Linked DNA regions of Homo sapiens: region 1 is linked to region 2. The links are contacts of gene promoters, found by promoter capture Hi-C in blood cells and fetal thymus (Javierre and others, 2016). All regions are on one chromosome and are shown on one strand. Each heading gives the region's core, a stretch centred on a gene start or on the middle of the fragment in contact. The rest is flanking DNA. Distances are from core to core; before and after follow the strand shown.

Region 1 (4,653 bases), core at 982-3,481, 1.3 Mb before region 2:
AGATAAACATTATGTCTACCAATATGTATTCTCAGTTCTATCCTTGGTAAAAGTGGGAGGATAGGAATGCAGGGGCTTTGCCCTTGAGTTATTCACAATTAAGTGGAGAAGACAAATTCAGTAAATCACAATATATGTCATTAGTGCCACAGCAGAAAAATATCCAAGATACAGTGGGCATACAATAAAAGGAACACCTAGTTTTCATTGAAAACACAGAGAAGTTTTTATAGAAAGTGATGCTTGAGCTGACTCTGAAGAAGTAAGAGTTTACCAAGTGGACTTCTGATGTGTGAATTTTTATTCTTTGAAAATATTAGGCTGGGTGAGGTGGCTCACATCTGTAATCCCAGCACTTTGGGAGGCTGAGGTGTGTGGATCACATGAGCTCAGGAGTTCGAGACCAGCCTGGGCAACATGGCGAGACCCCATCTCTACCAAAAATACAAAAAATTAGCCAGGGGTGGTGGCTTGTGCCTATGGTTCCAGCTACTTGGGAAGCTGAAGTGGGAGGATCATTTGAGCCTGGGAGGCAGGTGTTGCAGTGAGCCGAGATTGAGATTGGACCACTGCACTCCAACCTGTGTGACAGAGTGAGATCCTGTCTCAAAAAAAAAAAAAAAAAAAGAGAGAAAAAAGAAAATATTAAAAGATGCCTGACTAGAATTAACAGCAGAAACACAAGCATGTTAGGCTTCTGAAAAGTATGAAATGACTTAAGACTCCTCCAATAATTCAGCCATCGGCTCATCTTATTCCTCCAATTTTTAAAGATATCACTATAAACACAAACGTAGGCTTGTATCTGAACCTAGATTTACAGAACACAATTATAAAAACAAACCAAACTGTTAATTCCTTTTTTCAAACTCAAGGTAATAAACAAACCTATTTGACTTTGAAAAGAATCTCTTTACAGAAACTACCACAGAACAGAGGCACAGTAGAAGGTCATAAATCTTTATTTATGTATTTATTTTTGGAGATGGAATTTCACTCTTGTTGCCAGGCTGGAGTGCAATGCCGTGATCTCGGCTCACTGCAACCTCCACCTCCCAAGTTCAAGCGATTCTCCTGCCTCAGCCTCCCGAGTAGCTGGGATCACAGGCATGGGCCACCATGCCTGGCTAATTTTGTATTTTTAGTAGAGATGGGGTTTCACCATGTTGGCCAGGCTGGTCCCAAACTCCTGACCTCAGGTGATCCACCGGAGTCGGCCTCCCAAAGTGCTGGGATTACAGGTGTGAGCCACGTGCCCATCCTATTTATTTATTGTTTATTTAGAGACAGAGTCTTGCTCCATTGCCCAGTCTGGAAGTGCAGTGGTAAGATCATGGCTCACTGCAGCCTCAACCTCCTGCACTAAAGCAATCCTCCTGCCCCAACCTCTGGAGCAGCTGGGACTACAGGTGGGTACCACCATGCCTGGCTTTTTTTTTTTTTTTGAGACGGAGTTTCTCTCTTGTTGCCCAGGCTGAAGTGCAGTGGCACGATCTCAGCTCACCACAACCTCTGCCTCCCAGGTTCAAGTGATTCTCCTGCCTCAGCCTCCCAAAGAGCTGGGATTATAGGCATGCACCACCACGCCCAGCTGCCCAGCTAATTTTGTATTTTTAGTAGAGACAGGGTTTCTCCACATTGGTCAGGCTGGTCTCGAACTCCCAACCTCAGGTGATCTGCCCACCTTGGCCTCCCAAAGTGCTGGGATTACAGGTATGAGCCACTGCACCTGGCCGCCTGGCTAATTCTTTTAATTAATTTTTTATAGAGATGGGGTTTCACTATGCTGCCCAGGCTGGTCTCAAACTCCTGGCCTCAGGCCTCCTGCCTGGGCCTCCCAAAGTGCTGAGATTAGAGGCATGAGCCACTGCACCTGACCGATCTTTACTGATTTAAACTGAAAGTACTTTCTCTTACAATGATGTAATTTTAAGAACAAATGTGTTAAAATGTAACGTTCAGAAGAAACAATCTATTCAACATCAAATTGCCAAATAATGTTGCAACTTTACTATAATTATTATTACTCCTGGGCCCAGCACATCAACATCTAAAGTGCAGCACTTAACACCTACTATACCCAAGGCACAAAGTGAAGGCTCCTGCATAACATTCACAATGTAAAGATATGGTCATGTAGATTCTAGCAAGCATTGCCTCAAAGTGTAATTTAATTTCATTTTGGTATTATATAACATCCACCACATCAAATGTTATTATGAAAAGAGCACTGGACCCTTAAGAGTCAAAAGATGAGCTGGACGTGGTGGCTCACGCCTGTAATCCCAGCACTTTGGGAGGCCCAGGCGGGCGGATCACCTGAGGTCAGGAGTTCAAGAGCAGCCTGGCCAACTTGGTGAAACTCTGTCTCTACTAAAAAAAAATTTTTTTTTTTGAAACAGAGTTCTTGTTCCCCAGGTTGAGTGCAATGGCATGATCTTGGCTCACTGCAACCTCTGCCTCCCAGGTTCAAGCGATTCTCCTGCCTCAGCCTCCCAAGTTGCTGGGATTACAGGCATCCGCCACCATACTTGGCTAATTCTTTGGATTTTTAGTAGAGACAGGGTTTCACCATGTTGGCCAGGCTGGTCTTGAACTCCTAACCTTAGGTGATCCACCTGCCTTGGCCTCCTAAAGTGCTGGGATTTCAGGCATGAGCCACTGCGCCCGGCCTCTACCAAAAACATTTTTAAAAGTAGCCAGGCATGGTGTCAGGCACCCGTAATCCCAGCTACTCAGGTGGCTGAGGCAGGAGAATCACAGGAACCCGGGAGGCAGCAGCTGCAGTGAGCTGAGAGCACACCACTCGCACTTCAGCCTGGGCGACAGAGTGAGACTCCGTCTCAAAAAAAATAAAATAAAATAAAAAAGAGCCAAAAGAGCGCCAGGCACAGTGGCTCATGCTCCCAGCACTTTGGGAGGCCAAGATGAGAGGATCACTTGAGCCTAGGAATTCTAGAACAGCCTGGGCAACATGGTGAGACCCCATCTCTATAAAAAATTAGCCAGGTATGGTGGCGCATGCCTGTAGTCCCAGATACTCGGGAGGCTGAGGTGGGAGAATCACCTGAGCCTGGGAGGTTAAGGCTGCACACCACTGCACTCCAGCCTGGGCAACAGAGTGAGACCCTGTCCCAAAAAAAAAAAGTCAAAAGATGAGTTTGAGTCATGATTCTGACACTCATAGGTGTGATCAGGGGCCTGACATTTAAAACTCTCAGTGTCCTCAGCTTCTAGAAGGAAGCCTGGTGGTTAGGTTCACAGACCATAGAGCTAGAATGCCTAGGTTTGAATTCTAGCTCTACTATTTATTATTAGCTGTGTGAACTAGGGCAAACTACGTAAATTTTCTATGCCTCAATTTTTGCATTTTATGATGGGGATAATTATAGTTTCACTTCACAGAGTTGTTGTTAAGATTAAATTTGTTATTCTACGTAAAGCAGACAAAATAATGTCCATCTTTTTTTTTTTTTTTTTTTTGAGACGGAGTCTCGCTCTGTCGCCCAGGCCGGACTGCGGACTGCAGTGGCGCAATCTCGGCTCACTGCAAGCTCCGCTTCCCGGGTTCACGCCATTCTCCTGCCTCAGCCTCCCGAGTAGCTGGGACTACAGGCACCCGCCACCGCGCCCGGCTAATTTTTTGTATTTTTAGTAGAGACGGGGTTTCACCTTGTTAGCCAGGATGGTCTCGATCTCCTGACCTCATGATCCACCCGCCTCGGCCTCCCAAAGTGCTGGGATTACAGGCGTGAGCCACCGCGCCCGGCCAATAATGTCCATCTTATGAGAAGCACTATATTTGTATTTGCTTTACTAGACAGAGACTAGATTATGGAAAACCTTCGTACTAATTGAGCCATGCTGCTTCATAATTCTGGTCTCTGCACTGCTACTGTTGCTTCCTAGTCTGCCTTTCTCTTGTGTCTAGTAATCACCTATTAAACTTTGAAGACAGCTCAAGAATCCTCTTGCCTACAAAGCCATTCCTAACCGTTCCCACCCCTCCAGAAGTGACTCCTTTTCCCGAAGTGCTTCCATTCTGCCATGTGCAGATTCTCTTAGCCTTTACGGGTTTCATTGCACGTATGTGTTTAAATGTCTACTTAAGTGTAACATTAATGTCTCTTAAATGTCTACATAAGAGTGTAAGAGTGACTTTCTTGGACTGTGTGTGCATCATCACTGTATTCCCAGTCAGATGCCAGAAATCAAAGTGGAATGAGGACCTGTGAACTTCACAACTGTATAAGAGTCAAACTCAAACATGTGCATAAGGGCATTAGAACCCAGGTCACTAGGAACTGAGGTTCCAGCTCTCAAGGAGGCCCTGGGTGAAGAAAGGCAACCTAGGAAGCATGAATAGTAATCATGAACATAACTAATCATGCTACCAGGCAGACTGTCAAATGCTCATGTCACTGCCACGACTATGGCTGACGGGAATCATGGCAACGAGTCTCGCTGCCTCCCAAGCTTTGGAGAGGGTGTTCACCGCATCTCAGACTTGCCTGCATCATAGCACTCATGCCTTTTCCAGTTGTAAATAGATAAGAAAACTGTATCAGAATTGGTCTGTCATTCCACGTGTGCTGCCTGAAGGCAGAGACCTCACTGCTCCTCCCTATATTTCACTGCCCTGCATCCAAACAA
Region 2 (4,712 bases), core at 1,027-3,526:
TTCTTTAAGGGTAGGTAGACTTCCTTCTGGAGCCTGCTTAAATTTGGCCACTGTCCAGTGCCCTGGAATAATTGGTTTTTCAAAATATTTTTTTCCCTAGAGTTTGTAATTGTTATTTGTGGGAGGGTTAATCTGACTACATTTATTTGCTATTACTGGAAACTAGAACCAGAAATATTTATTTATTATTTTTGAAATGGAGTCTCGCTCTGTCGTTCCGGCTGGAGTGCAGTGGTGCGATCTCGGCTCACTGCAACCTCCCCTCCTGAGTTCAAGCGACTCTCCTGCCTCAGCCTCATGAGTAGCTGGGATTACAGGCGCCTGCCACCACGCCCGTCTAATTTTTGTGCTTTTAGTAGAGACGGGGTTTCACCATGTTGGCCAGGCTGTTCTCGAACTCCTGACCTAAAGTGATCCGCTGGCCACAGCCTCCCAACCGATTAATACTTAATTAAAACGATATTTCTCTCCAGAATTCTTTTTTTTTTTTTTTGGGACGGAGTCTCGCTCTATCGCCCAGGCTGGAGTGCAGTGGCACGATCTTAGCTCACTGCAAGCTCCGCCTCCCGGGTTCACGCCATTCTCCTGCCTCAGCCTCCCGAGTAGCTGGGACTACAGGCGCCCGCCAACGCTCCCGGCTAATTTTTTGTATTTTTAGTAGAGACGGGGTTTCACGTGTTAGCCAGGATGGTCTCGATCTCCTGACCTTGTGATCCGCCCGTCTCGGCCTCCCAAAGTGCTGGGATTACAGGCGTAAGCCACCGCGCCCGGCCCAGAATTCTTTGTTTTGAGATAGGGTCTTGCTCTGTCGTCCAGGTTGGAGTGCAGTGGCGCGATCTTGGCTCACTGCAGCTTGACCTTCCAGGCTCAAGCGATGCTTCCAAGCTCAGCGTCTGCAATAGCTAGGACTACAGCTGTGCACCACCATGCCTGGCTAATTTTTTTGTAGATATGGGGTTTCTCCGTGTTGCCCAGGCTGATCTGGAAGTCCTGGGCTCAAGCAATCCTCCTGCCTCGGCCTCCCAAAGTGCTGGAATTACAGGTGTGAGCCACCATGCCTGACCTCAGAATTCTTGATAACCCTGTGAGGATGGCTTAAGCTATACTCAGGTGTGTGACCTTGTACAAGTTACTAGCCTATCTAGGCCTGTTTCCTCACTTACAAAATGGGGACAAAAATAAACCTACCTCATAGTCATGAGCATTACATGAACTGTTATATCTTAGAAGCTCAGAAATGCCTGGTGGTAAATGCTATAAATACACCCTTATCATTATTAGTGAGTACCTAGGTTGTGCATGCCACTGTTGGGTGCTTTACGCACATTAATTTACTTGTCAGAATAGCCATGGGGGGGAGGTACTATTATAATGCCACTTTAGATATGAAGAAACTGACGTTTTGAGAGATTGGATGATTAAATCTCTGACTCCAAACACAACGCTTCCTCCAACGCGGTTTGGCCTTGGAGAGGAAGGCAGCTTCTTTCAAGACACCCCTGAGCGAGAAAGTCGCGTCATCCGGGGGCTCCCATTGCCCGAGCCCGCCACGTGGCAGTCTGGGCCGAATGCCTCTCCCCACTTTCTGGGTGGGCGAGGCCTGACTCCAACCCCGGCCCTCCGCTCTAGACCTGGTACCACTGTAGATTCAATCCAAACTCCCAGAAATGTGCCGCCTTTCATAATCCCCAGCTGTCCACTACAGGTGGTAACTCCCCTGCTGCTCAATGTGGCGTAAATCTTCCCTTCCATAGCTGCGGGACCACAGCTCACCGACCTGGGACAAACACCCGAGACGGGCCGAATTCCAGCTCGCAGGTAGTAATTCCGCCCCTCCCCTCCCCGCTCCGTCGCGTCCAGTCCAGCTCTTCTAGCCCTGCCCCGCTCCTCTAGCCCAACCGCTCCCCACTGTTGGCCCCGCCCCTCCCCGCCCCGTCCAGCTCTTCTCGCCCCGCCCCGCTCTTCTCGCCCAACTGCTCCTCGCTGTTGGCCCCGCCCCTCCCCCGCCACCCCCGCCCCCGCCCCGCCCCTCTCTTCTCGCCCAACCGCCCACCTCTGTTGGCCCCGCCCTCCCATCTAAGTCACGCCTCCTAGTAGGTCAATTTAGCTTCTCCAGCTCCAGAGCCCAGACTCCTCATTGGGCGCAGCACTATTCCCGCCTCTTCCTTGGGTCGCGAGCGCCGAACTCATCGAACGCAGCCAATGGGTGATACGACGGCAGCGCGGCGGGAGGTTCGATTGACCCGGTCTTGGCGGGTCGGTGAGTCTTGGCGGCTGTTAACGCGCGCTTTGGGAACAGGAAGGTTGAGAGAGAGGTGCTGGGGTCTGCGTCTATCTCTGTCGCTCTTTTCAGCCCCTCCTGGTATTCCCCTCCTAACCTGGGTTTTTTACACGCCCGCGTGGCTTCCTGCTCGACCTCCCTGAGTCTGATCCTGGTTTCCACCTCCAGCCCTGGGAAATTTCCTTTCTCCAGACTCGCCCTCCCCACCCGGGCCTCGGACTTTCACCCCAGCTTCTCTCTCCTGGCCAGTGATTACCCACCCCCAATCCCACCCCGCCCCGCCGCGCAACTACCTCCTCCCTTCACCCGGACTGGGACCATCATCCCCACTCCACTCCGCCCAGTCTGGGACTCCACCTGCCTCCTCCCCAATCCCACACTAATCTCTGCTTGGTCTCTTCCTCTTTGGCCTAATCTCTCGTCTCGGCTTATTGGGGACGGCCACTCTCACAGTTTGGTTCCAAACACCAGTTCCTGGATGGATTCCCGCCATCCATGCCCCCTCTTTAATTAGCCGGTCCTCTCAATAATGTAGCAGCCCCCTCTACAGATTAGACCCTGGTCCTACACTCTTAGCCGCTGCCTGCTTTTGACCTTTGGCTCATGGGTACTTGACGTTTTAAACTCCTAGGCCCAGGATGGTAAGTGTGGGCCTAGGGGAGACTGGGAATAGCCCTGGGTCAGGGTCTAGTAGGCCTAGGCTGCAGGATCCTTGCAGGCACTGTTTCTGTTCTCCCTTTACAGAGGAGGAGCTTGGCTCCCAGCCAGCTGGCCAAGAGAAAACCTGAAGGCAGGTCCTGTGATGATGAAGACTGGCAACCTGGCCTAGTGGTGAGCACTCAAGGGGACAGGGAAGGTGGGTAGAGCTGTTTGGACAGAAAAGAAGCCAGGATTTGGTTTCTAGGGTTACATAGCCAATTCCAGATGCCTCTTTTGTATGTTCAATAAACTTTTAGTGAGTACTTACTATGTGCCAGGCATTGAACAAGATTAGTAAAATCTTTATCCTCAGGGTAGTCACTAGAAGCTAATATAGCCTCAGTTTTCCTGGTGGGAAAAGATAAGCAAAAGAGCCAGTTGGATTGGACCTTTTGACTCTGCTTGGAAAAAAGGGCTACACAACAGCAATTAGCAGCTGGCTCTTTTGCTCTTTGTCCCCTGCCCAGTGTCACAGAACAGTAGAGTGTTCTGGGCCTACCTTGGAGTCCTGGGCTCACTTGGGCCTAGATCTGACAGGTTGTGTCCTTCCAGTCCTTGCTCATACTCAAGTACAGTATATTCTACTTTAGGTTGGGCCCTGGGCTCTGCTTCCTGTTTTGGAGGCTTGTTGGGGCTGGCTGTGGGCAGGACCTATGTAAACCAAAATAAATAGGACAGTGCAGCATGGACTTCAGAGAATAAGAGCAGTTCAAGAAGTGGGGGCTTGGCCACTGGAACTTTGAAGGAAGGGATCAGCTACGCAAGGACTAGAAGGCACTTTTTGGCAGGAGCAGTGTGTGAATAAGGTGTGGGGTAGGGGTGCTGGTGTTTGTTTCAGGTGTGTCTTACAGGATCACTGAGGCTTCAAATATCCTGGCAAGCTGGTACAAGTGTGTTCTTGCCTAATGGCTTGATGGGGCTTGCTCAATAGTTGTACCGTGGTGTGCAAGGGGCTTCTCTACCTGTGAAGGAGGCACATTGGCTGACCCTTGCCATGTACATGGGTCTCAGACTTGAACTTGGGGCAGCATTCTCTGCATCTGGGTCTGCTGTCAGTTGCTGGTTGCTTCTGAAGATGCTTTTAGTGCCAGTGTCCTCACAGCCATGGGTGGCCTGAGTGGGGAGTGGCCTCAGTGGCCTGGGAGTTGAAGGCAGCTGTATTCTTGCCTCTTGGAAACTCAGCGAAATGTTTGGTTGCTCCATCATTCCATGGAGCTTTTGGAGTGAAGCTTTGGGCCACCAGGACTCCATGCTGTTGGTAGACTTGCTCTTCAGAGGCCCATTTTATTTACCTCTTCCATTGCCCCGCTCAGTTTAGGCAGGTTATTTAATCTCATTAAGCTCTAGTTTTCTCACCTCTTAAATAAGGATAATAACTCTACATAATAGAGTTGCTATGAAGATGATACACTATGACATGTGTGAAGAATTTAGCACAGTGCCTGGCACTTAATAAGCACTTCAAGTGTTAGTTGCCATTATGGTGATTTCTGTGGTCTTCTAGACTTCACCTTTCCCAATTCTCTCTCCTAGACTCCTAGGAAACGGAAATCCAGCAGTGAGACCCAGATCCAGGAGTGTTTCCTGTCTCCTTTTCGGAAACCTTTGAGTCAGCTAACCAATCAACCACCTTGTCTGGACAGCAGTCAGCATGTAAGCCAGAACTGCAACCTGCATGTGTATGTCTGTGCCCAGTCACTCAGCCTAGGTAGACTCCTGTCCCTGTACACTC

What was found. The method cuts DNA at HindIII sites, captures the fragments that hold promoters and counts their contacts. A CHiCAGO score of 5 or more calls a contact.
Region 1: a contact is called between a fragment that was not itself captured here and the fragment with the promoter of RAD54L in region 2, in 1 of 17 cell types (monocytes). The highest score is 5.3, in monocytes.

The regions. Positions count from the first base shown.
Region 1 is chr1:44,981,335-44,985,987 of GRCh38, forward strand. The region is part of intron 1 of EIF2B3 (eukaryotic translation initiation factor 2B subunit gamma); the gene reads right to left. Among named protein-coding and RNA genes, the nearest start is that of EIF2B3, 2.9 kb to the right of the region's middle. The HindIII fragment of the contact is 4,485 bases long and covers 1-4,474 here.
Region 2 is chr1:46,245,487-46,250,198 of GRCh38, forward strand. It overlaps RAD54L (RAD54 like), which reads left to right and starts at 2,277. Exons shown (of 18, transcript NM_003579.4): 1 at 2,277-2,922; 2 at 3,026-3,112; 3 at 4,514-4,633. The coding sequence starts at 2,920. RefSeq lists a silencer at 1,838-2,097. The HindIII fragment of the contact is 28,355 bases long and covers 1-4,207 here.